Regions from separate parts of the Homo sapiens genome. Here region 1 is linked to region 2. Evidence: promoter capture Hi-C in human tissues and cell types (Jung and others, 2019). All regions are on one chromosome and are shown on one strand. The core of a region is centred on a gene start or on the middle of the fragment in contact, and the rest is flanking DNA. Distances in the headings are between cores, read along the strand shown.

What was found. The method cuts DNA at HindIII sites, captures the fragments that hold promoters and counts their contacts. A contact is called where the count stands out against the background at its distance.
Region 1: a fragment that was not itself captured here is called in contact with the fragment with the promoter of CCNJ in region 2 in 2 of the 25 tissues and cell types used here (heart right ventricle and spleen).

What each region holds. Positions count from the first base shown.
Region 1 is chr10:96,163,384-96,168,836 of GRCh38, reverse strand. ZNF518A (zinc finger protein 518A) reads right to left here. Exons shown (of 6, transcript NM_001330736.2): 6 at 5,078-5,453. Among named protein-coding and RNA genes, the nearest start is that of ZNF518A, 36 kb to the right of the region's middle. The HindIII fragment of the contact is 3,741 bases long and covers 1,684-5,424 here.
Region 2 is chr10:96,042,291-96,047,714 of GRCh38, reverse strand. CCNJ (cyclin J) reads right to left here and starts at 4,132. Exons shown (of 6, transcript NM_001134375.2): 1 at 3,996-4,132; 2 at 3,253-3,362. The coding sequence starts at 3,321. The region is part of intron 2 of ENTPD1-AS1 (ENTPD1 antisense RNA 1); the gene reads left to right. RefSeq lists silencers at 3,852-4,421, 4,549-4,743. The HindIII fragment of the contact is 11,661 bases long and covers 1-5,424 here.

The DNA.
Region 1 (5,453 bases), core at 2,305-4,804, 120 kb before region 2:
ATACTGGCACATCATAGTCAAACTGTTGAAAGACAAGGACAAAAAGAGAATCTTGAAAGCAGCAAGACAGAAAGAAGTGAGTCATCACATCCAAAGGTCCTCAGGAGAATTAACAGCTGATTTCTCATCAGAAATCACGGAGGCCAGATGGCAATGGGATGACATATTAGAAGTGTTGAATGGAAAATTAAAAAGAAAACAAAACTGTCAACCAAAAATTCTATATCCAGCAAAGCTATTCTTTTAAACAGAAAAATTAAGATATTCATAGATAGACAAAAGCTGAGTTTGTTGCTAGCAGAATTGCTCTACAAGAAAAAAAAAGCTAAAGGGAGTATAAAGCTAAAATGAAAGAACTCTAGACAGTAACTCGAACTCACATGAATGAAAAAAAAAAAACACTGGAAAGGTAAATATATTCACCAGCACAAATAAACATAAGACAATGTATTTTTTTTTTAATTTGGAACACAAATGCTTTATTTAAGGGTGCATCACAATTCCCGTGTGGTGAGCAAAAAATAAAATAAAGGAGCAGATCGTAGCACACCATTCCCACTGGCCAAGTGGTTGAACCCTGCATCCAAGACCCAGTGAGCAGCCAAGTGAGGTGCAACCTCTGGGCCTCTCACTCATGACTCCAACAGAATTAGCACATTGCCCTTGTGCATGGGGCCTTTTACATTGCAGATTTTGGAGCAGCAAGACAATGTATATCTGTTCGTAACTCTTGTTCTTCCCTCCTGATTTTTAAAACTGCGTAATTATAAAACTATGTTGATGGACATATAATTATTATAAAGATGTAGTTTGTGACAATAACAGCATGGGCAGAATGAAGGCATATAGAGCAAATTTTTCATTACTGAAATTAAGTTGAGATTAATCTGAAACAGATAAAACAGACTTGTTTTACAACCTCCTGTAATAAAAACGCTGTCTTTTAAAACAAATTATCTATTGCACTTTTTTGTTTTTGGTGTCACAGCTATGAAAGCTTTGCCTAGAGAATTATCACAAATACTTACATTTTTTGTAAGTTTTACAGTTTTTGCTTGTATTTAGGTCTATGATCCATTTTGAGTTAATTTTTGTGTACATAGTGTGAAGAACACTTTTTCTTCAAACTTTTTGTTTCAGATTGCATATCCTCTATCAATCTGCAGGTTTGCTGATTCTTTCTTCTGCCATCTCAAATCTAGTATTGAGCCTTTCTAGTAACTTTTAAAATTGTAGTTATTGTACTTTTCAACTCCAGAATTTTCATTTAGTTCTTTAAAAAAAATTTCTATCTCTATGTTCTCTACTTGGTGAGACATTAGAATACTTTCCTTAATTCTTCACATCTGGCTTCCTTTAGTTCTTTGGGTTTACTTATTTATTTTGAGGTGGAGTCTCGCTGCCTCCCAGGCTGGACAGCAATGGCGCAATCTCGGCTCACTGCAACCTCTGCCTCCTGAGTTCAAGCGATTCTCCTGCCTCAGCCTCCTGAGTAGCTGGGACTACAGGCGCCCACCACGCTTGGCCAATTTATTTTTAGTAGAGACGGGGTTTCACCATTTTGGCCAGGCTGGTCTCAAACTCCTGGCCTCAAGTGATCCACCCACCTCAGCCTCCCAAACTGCTGGCATTACAGGCATGAACCACTGCACTCAGCCTTTTGAACATACATTTGTAACAGCTGCTTAGCATTTATCCTAAATTTGGTATCCCTCAAAACTTTATATTTCCTACATTTCTCTGTCATATAGGACACATACTTTTCTGTTTCTTTGCATATCTCAATTTTTGTGTTGAAACTGGACATTTTAGGTAACACAGATCTCTGCATACTGATCATCTTCCTTTAGTGACTTGGCTTGACTAATTAATGTATGGCTTGAAGACTGCTTTCACTACTTAAGGAGTTTACAAGTTTGCCCTTCATTTGGCCAGGAACTTGTAGTTTAGAAGTTCTCTCTGGTCAGTCCTCTGAGATGGCAGCCTTCAGCATGCACAGTCTTCCTGATCACAAGGGATGTCTGTAGTTTTATCTAGGTTGTCTCTTTCCCTGATCCTTTCTTTCTTTTTGAGACAGAGTCTCGCTCTGTCGCCTAGGCTGGAGTGCAGCGGTGCGATCTCGGCTCACTGCAAGTTCCGCCTCCCGGGTTCACACCATCCTCTTGCCTCAGACTCTCGAGTAGTGGGACTACAGGTGCACGCTGCCATGCCTGGCTATTTTTTTGTATTTTTAGGAGGGACGCAGTTTCACCGTGTTAGCCAGGATGGTCTCGATCTCCTGACCTTGTGATCCGCCCGTCTCGGCCTCCCAGAGTGCTGGGATTACAGACTGAGCCACCGTGCCTGGCCTCCCTGATCCTTTCTTTAAGCTTCTGGTTATCTATTGGAATGACCTGGCAACTGTTGAACCTCCACTGTTACTGATTGCTCTACTGTTTTCTACAATACTCTGAAGTCTGTTACAAATAAAGTCAGGCCCTGTGACAGTTAATTTTCAGTGTCAACTTGAATGCATTAAGGAATACCTAGACAACTGGTAAAACATTATTTCTGAATGTGTCTGTGAGGGTGTTTTCAGAGACTGGTATGTGAGCCATTACACTGAATGGGGAAGATTTGCCCACAATGTGATTGACGCACAATCCAAACAGCTAGGAGCCTGGACAGAAGGAAAAGAGAAAAAGCTAATTCTCTCTCCACTAACTTCCTCCCCCCACGCCTAACGCCATACCCCAGGAGCTGAGACAGCTTTATTTTCATGCCCTTGGACATCAGAACTCCAGGGTTTCAGGCCTTTGGATTCGAGGACTTACACCCGTGGCCCCTTGGTTCTCAGGCCTTCTATCTCAGTCTGAGAGTTACACCACCAGTTTTCCTGGTTCTGAGGCTTCTGGACTTCGACTGAGTCATGCTACCACCATCACTACGTCTCTAGCTTGCAGACAGCCTAGTGTGGGACTTCCTAGCCTCCATAATTACATAACCTAATTCCCTCAAGACATGCCCTCATATTGGTTCTGTATCTCTGAAAAACCCTAATTCAGGCCTCTTGTAATAATGTGTTGTCAGTTTTTGAAGCTTACTCCAACCCTCCACTGAACAGAACCTCTGTACCTTTATGCTATGGAACAGCTGGAGGATAGAAAGAATGGTAAATCAGCTCTTCAGTGAATGCCCAAACCACAATCCTCCCTGTAAAGCAGCTCTGTTAGAGGAAGAGGGTAATGGGGGTAGGGGTGGGGGACAAAGTTCTAAAAATGTAATCTGCTAAGCAGGTATATTTAGTCTTCCACTCAGAAATACTATGTATCTCCCAGTTATATCTTACAGGTTTGGTTTGGTGTCTGTTTTTTTTTTTTTTTTTTTGGTTGTTGTTGTTTTTTGGCAGGCTTGTATTATTTTGTGCCTCTTATTATAGACGGGTCTTACTGGCTGGGCATGGTGGCTCATGCCTATAATCCCAGACTTTGGGAGGCCAAGGCAGGTGAATCACTTGAGGTCAGGAGTTTAAGACCAGCCTAGCCAACATGGTGAAACCCCATCGCTACTAAAAATATGAAAATTAGCTGGGTATCGTGGTGGGCACCTGTAATCCCACTACAGGAGCGGTACTTGAACCCGGGAGGCAGAGGCTGCAGTGAGCCAAGACTGTGCCACTGCACTCCAGCCTGGGGAACAGAGTGAGACTCCATCTCGAAAAATAAATAAATGGGTCTTCTTTTATTGTTCCCCAGTTGATTACTGTTAATTGTTCAGGAAAGTAACTAATTTTCAGTGTACTCCTTTAAACTTCCAAGATATTAAAAGCAAGTCATCTACAAGAGTATTTTGGTCTCTCTCCCAAATTTAACTTTCATTTTGCTTTCCTATTCTTTGACATTAGCAATAGCTTATGATGTAATTGATGATCGCAGGCAACATTTCACTCCTTAATTGAAAGATGTATTTCATGAGTTGCCACATAAACATAACCCTTACTTTTGGTTTAAGCACTTTGAAGTATATGGAAAAATTCTTATTTTAACACATTAGAAATGTCTTTACTAGGAAAAAGTATTTAAATTAAGCACATTCTTGGCATCTCCTAAATTCATGACTTCTAAAATTGATGTACATTATATTTTTTCCACACTATTTACTTGAAAGTTTCCACTCTTGTAACAATTATTCTCGTTTTAAAAAGATTCCTAAATTTGGAGGCATTAACAGAAGCTTTGTTAAACTAGTCAAAAAGCACCTCAAAGATGACTTCATGAAATACTTCCTCCAAGATACTAATTACTTCTCAATTCTCCAGTTATTAAGAGAGGCATACATAAATTAATAAACATCAAACTCAACCATTTCAACTCTCCATTACAGGAAAAAGTTTCCACTAATGCCATACTCTGCTAACTAGCAACAAATACCACCCTGAAAAATCCCCCCAGTAAGTTTTGCTAGATGAGATCCCCAATGGGTCAAGGTAGTATGCTGAGAGCAAGGATCCTAACAAGTTGCTAAGGCAAAGAACAGAGCCAACGCCCCAAATGGCTCTGTTAAGAAAGTTAAGGAAGGAAGTAGATGTCAATGGTGAAAAGGAATCTTATTTTTAAAAAATCAAGATAAGCTGTATGGAATTAGTATATAATATTCTGTTTTTAATTCACCTCCATTTTCTCCCACCCCAAGAACTTCTATTACTTTTTCTTAACAGCTATTTCAAATCACTGAAAGAATATCTAAGTCCTTTTCCCATCTAACCTGGACATAAATTCTCACAGCATTTCTGCTCTATCTCATTTTTAATCCCTTCATAAGTTGCACTACTCTTAGCACACAAATGACCTATTTTACCCACTAACCATTTTCATTACATTTACAGTCTCTTCACTGTTATACAAATACATCTATACTAGAAACTTTATATACATATTTTAGTTCGTACTTTGTAGCTCTTTTACACAGGTGAGGTACATCACGAAACTTATCAAGCTTGTTTTTTTAAATAAAAATCCCATTCTGAAAGCAGACTCTAGGGAATTCAAGCAACAGTCAGTAAACTATGTCTGGTGGGCCAAATTCAGCCCACTTCCTGTTTTTATAAATTGTTTTATTAAAACATAGCCACACTAATTCATTTACATATTGTCTATGGTTTTTTTCTGCATTATGAGAATTGAGTAGTTAGGACAGAAACTAGAAGGCCTACGAAGCTTATTTATCTGACCCTTTATTGAAAAAATTTGCTAACCCCCCAATGAAAATATTTTCCATTAAAAAAACTATTACATTTCAATTTGTGTTACTGAATACTTAGCAAGATAAATTCTTTGAAAACTGAATTATGTTTTTTAAGTACTTGCCAAATAGTAAGAAACCCATTTCAGTGGAGATGGACAAACTAGAAAAAATAAAACAAATTCCTCACACAGAAATTCAACTGCAAAACTAAAACTAACTCTTCAATTGTA
Region 2 (5,424 bases), core at 2,883-5,382:
AATATTACCTAAGATAAATGGATAAAATAGTCAATGTAATTTAGTAGTGTAGCCAAAGAATACATCAATTGTTGTTTTTTGAGACAGGGTTTCCTGTAGCCCAGGCTGGAGTACAGTGGTGCCATCTTGGCTCACTGCACCCTCCACCTCCCAGGCTCAAGCAATCCAACCACCTCAACCTCTGGAGTAGCTGGGACTACAAGCGCTCACTGCCACGCCCAGTTAGTTTCTGTACAACAGGGTCTCGCTATGTTGCCCAGGCTGGTCTCCAGCTCATGGACTCAAGTGATCCACCTGCTTTCAGCCTCCCAAAGTGTTGAGATTACAGGTGTGAGCCACCATGCCTGGCCAAAAAAATTTTTTTTTTCCACATAAAGGGAAGATGCCGATTTCTCATGTAGTTCCTAGGATTTTTCTTTTCTCCTTAACTCTTTCTTTGGATCTTTACAATGGTGTAAGTGAGTTGCAACTTTACCTTTGCTGCCACCATGTGACATTTATTGAGCATCTCCCATGCAGCAGACACTATACTAACCCAGGCATAAAAGCTGGAAAAACAGTCTCAAGCCTATCTCTAGCAGGTGAATCAAATACAGAGCTTATCACACAATATAGTCACCACAGGTTATTATGGCAACACCTAGGAAGAAAATCTAACTTAGCTCAGGGATTAGGGAGTTGGGGAAAAAAGGCAAAACCAGAGCAGGTTTTCCCAAAAAGTGGCCTGAACATGGTCTTAAAGACTCCCTGGAAACACCTGGAAAACACTGATGGACTTCACTTTCTTAATGTTTCTCACAAAGCTAGAATTGTTCCCATTTGTCATTAAGGCTCCTAAAAACACTTTCCCAAACAGCCTATGACACTAACTATACACAGCAAAATAATGAGAAGAAAGGAGACAAAAGGGTGTAAGGTGACAGCTGCTTTGTAGGGGTTTTTTGAGGGAGTGGATAGTTGGCATGATTTCCATTCATTGTCATTTTCACTCTTCCCTAGTAAACACAATGCTAGTCACACCAAATATTTCTCCACAAACCTAGGGCCTAAACATAGAATACCTTCTGCAGTATCTCAATGGCAACTGCCCAAAGGAAGACCTAAATGTGGATGCTCTAAATTATAGATAAGGTTAGACTATGAAGGCAAGGATCATGTCTCGTTCACTGTTATTGCTCTAACACCTGGCATGATATCATGTATGTCATAAATGATCAACATGTTGAAGAAAAACAGATGACTATCCGACTGAATCACCAATTAATAGCCTGGAATTACCACGTCTTTTCTAGGAGAAAAGTCCATTTTAAGTTTCCTTCAGTGTATTACAAACAGTGGTCTCTCCAGTTCCACAAGTTTAAGTTTTACAGATTAATGTAAATTCTTGTATAAAGTGTTGCCAGTAAGAACCATGGTTTGCATAATGCTTAAACATAAAGACAACCCAGGGCAGTAGGCCATAGGTGGCCCAATAAAACTTTCAGTGGCATTCCTTCACACCCTGTGCTACCTTGTCCTCTGATAGTTCATAAGCAACTTGAGTGAGTATAAGGTTGGGTCTTATGCCTTGGATGCTCCAGAAACTAATCCACAAAAGCCTTCAACAAATCTAAATCTAGGAGAAAAAACAAAAAAACAAAGAACCCATGTCCAAACTCAATTGACAAAATGCAGATAATCACTCACGAATTAAAATGATCTACACATAAAATGATTGAAAAGTATGGAAATCACCAAGAAAAACCTTTTAAGTTTCATGCCAATTAAAAAATATACTCTTGGCTGGGCGCAGTGGCTCATGCCTGTAATCCCAGCACTTTAGGAGGCCGAGGCAGGTGGATCACCTGAGGTCAGGTGAAACTCCAACTCAAAAAAAAAGTACTCTTAATATCAACTAATTAATTTCACTACATACCAGAGGGATAAAAAGGCTGACACTTAAAACACTTTTCAAAATATGTGCAACTATATTAATTTTTTTAAAAAAGAAAACATTTCACATTGAAAGATGACATCTGCCAAAAAAAAAAAAGATCAAAAGTGTATCTGGACAATTTTCCAAGAAACTGCAACTCTTTCCTAACTAACACTCCAGAGATCCCATTAGTTAGAATTTTTATGTGGTATAAACCATCTCCTAGGGGGCTGAACTGTATTTTAGTGAATCTAAGAGACTGAATGTCAGAATTAGTTAAGTAGCATTTAGAAATCTCAGGCCTAGAAAAGGGTAACAATTTAAGTCAGAATTAGGTTTTCCAATCTACTTGACCTGGTCAGAAACTCAAGATAAAAGTTCATTATCATTCCAGGATCTCAACCCCAAGAGTCAGAATCCTTTTTATTGAAAGTCAGCTGTTTTGCTTCTTTCTCAATTTTCTACATTTAACAAATGGCTTTCTTTATCCAAGGTGAAACTGAGTTAAGCTAGAGATCATTTTGGATCTGGTCTCTCTTTTGGTTATCGAAGAGGCAGAAATGTCTCATTAATCTGCCTTGCCACATGCAGAGTAAAACCGTTACTTAATAGCAACAATACACAGACTTTGCTTTGTGTTGGAAAAGTATTTTTTTCCAATATCTATTAAGTCTACTTTCTGCCTTTGATATCAGCAGGAAGGGGCAGCCAACTCCCTCCACTTTAGGGCTTTTGAACAGCCCAAATCCTGAGGGGTAAGTGATAAGAAGTTATCACTTAGTGCTTACTATATACCAAGAGCAGTTTCTAAGCACATGTACGGTACTAACTTAAGTTTCACAATCGCCAGAATCATAAGGCACACTCATTATTCCTCATTTTACAGATGAGGAAATCAAGAAACAGAAATTTCACTTGTCCACGTCTCACGGCAAGTTAGCGGAAAGGCTGAGGAATTTATGTACAAAAGCGACTTAAACTGGCTGCATGCAACGGCAACTCTCGAACAAAGAGGGCTGTTCTGCCCAACAAAAATTCAGTGTATATATCTTTTAAAATACAAGATCAAATTCATGACCCACCTGGAAGCCAGAACGCCCCTTTCCACCTTCCCTGGCCCAACTACCATCTCCCTACTCATTCAGGTTGCAGGTTCTTTTGATACATCCCAGAGAAGGAGCCAAGAAGTTAATTAACCTTGAGCAAATGAGCAAACTCGCCTTTTCTGGCCCGGAAGATAGTGAGTAAAGAACCTGACTAGACCTTCTAGAGAGCCGAGATTCAGAACAACTGGCGCGACACACAGAAGGAGAAGGCAGGCCGGGCCTCGGAGTTACCTTGTAGCGAAGCGCTTGGTGAATATCGGCGGCCAGCTGTCCTCGCCACCACTGCCCCTCCAGCTCCATGGGACCCGGCGGCGCGCCCAGCCCGACGCGGCAACTCGAGTCTGTAAGACACACCCCAGGCGCGGTCACTGCCGGCTCCCCCGCGACCCTCTGCGCCCCCTCCCCGGGGGGTGTGACCTCAGGCCACCCGGTGTGGCTGCTCATCTTCACTTGACTCTTCCTCAACCCAGCCCGACCCGAGTCGTTTCCCCCAACGCCACACGCGAAGCCGGGTCTGCCCCCGCAGGAAGAGCCGAAGGACTCTGAGACTCACTGCTCGACTATGTGTCGGGCAAAAGGGGATCCACTCGGGCCCTGAGTTGCCAAAGCGCGGAGCCAGGTGCGAGCTCGGGAAGAGCTGGGGGAGGCCCGGCTGGGGCTCCCTGCGTCCGGGGCTGGAGTTCTCCCGCCCTCCCTGAGGAGCGGGGAGAGGTGACACGCTCATAGCCCCGCTGAGGGGAAACGCTCCCATGGCAAAGCCCGGGGGTGAGCGTCTGCCTGGCCGCGGGTCTCCGCATGGACGTCGGGAGCCTGCTCCTCCCCGGGAGCCCCGAGAAACGCACGTTCCGCGCGGCCTCAGAAAGGGGAACAAAAGGCCGGGCCAGCCAGGCTCTGCGCCTCACCCCGGGAGGGTCCGCTGCCCCACGCCTACCCCAGGCCTGCCGGGCCGCCCGGCCCCACGCTGGCTCCCTTACCCGGAACCGCGGCCCTCACAGCCCCAGCCCCGCCGTCGTGCGGCGGACGCCGGCCCCGCTCATGCTGCGGACAGTGGGCCGCTAAGCGCCGGCCTCAGCTAGAGCCCAGCGCCTGGACGCTCGCGCCGCCCATTGTTAAAGGACCGGCAGGCGGCTCCGCATACAAAGCCAGCGCGGGGGCACTTGAGGCCCCGCCGCTGCCAATCTCGTCTCGCGATACAGCGGGGTCGCCCCGAGCCGTCCAATTGGCGGCCGGGCCGGGCCCAGGTGCAGCGCCAGGCGGCGGCGCGGCGGCTCCCGCCTGGGTACGGTCAGCATCCCGCACGGCGCGGCGTGGCCTGGGCTGGCCTGGCGCTTCGGTTGCCGGGGCGCTCAGCCGCCACCTACTGCGAAGCCGGCCTGATCGCCGGCTGAGGTCGGCAGAGAGCGCCGGAGAAATTGTAAGGTGGATCACTGCAGTGACCAATCCAGTTAGGCCACTCACCTGCTGAGAACCTTCGATGGCTCCTCGATGCCCGCGGAGCAAAGTTCCGACGCCTCAGTTTGGCGTTTAAAAGTCTTCACGGCATGGATTCGGTTTACCTTACTTCACGTTGCACCAACCGCTTCCATCCCAGGGGCTGCTCCGTGGATCATCAGGCCCTCCAAATGTGCTTTAGCTGTTTCTGCAGCCCCTGAAGCGTTTTTTTTTTCCTGTGAAATTATGCTCTTTTTTTAAGTTCCACCTCAAACTCCACCTTTCTTCTAGAAACCTAATTAATCTCTTCCCCCTCCTTATTTTCGTTGCTGTAGGGATTCCCAAGAGCTTTGAATGAAGACATTTAAGATTACTTCTAGTAACCTTGCTTGTCAAACCCATGGTGGATGTAATTAACCATCTGTGCTCGTAAATCAGGAAACTGCAAAACTGTGAGAACACTCCGACGTCAATTGAGGTGATATGGGGGCTGAAATGTGATTAGAGGAAACCTAATCAATTGTATTTTAACCTCTTTGGTGGATTATCACAAAAGAGGTGGATGGTAACCCTAGGACAGTGAGACTGTCCACTTTTCTGAGACTGGAGATCAATCTCTTAATAGTAAAACGTAAATATTTTTAAAACTTCACCCCTTTTACTTTGAATCCTTTGTCCAAAAAGATACATGATGATAAAGAACTACTACAAAGTGATAAATACATTTTATGTGATTCTGGGTGGCATCTTCATTTGAAGATCATCAGCAGACATGTATATGAGCCGTACCCTATCCATAGACGATGCTTATACCCAGGAGAGCAGGCCCGCAGGAACCAAAGGCAAGAAAAGGGAAACTCAGAAGCTGAAGTTGGCAGATCCCGGCCTAACCCGACATAGTCCAGGGAGAAGGCTGCCCTGGCCTGTCTCTCAGTTGCAGGGTCCTCTAGAGTGAAGGTAGACACATCAGGC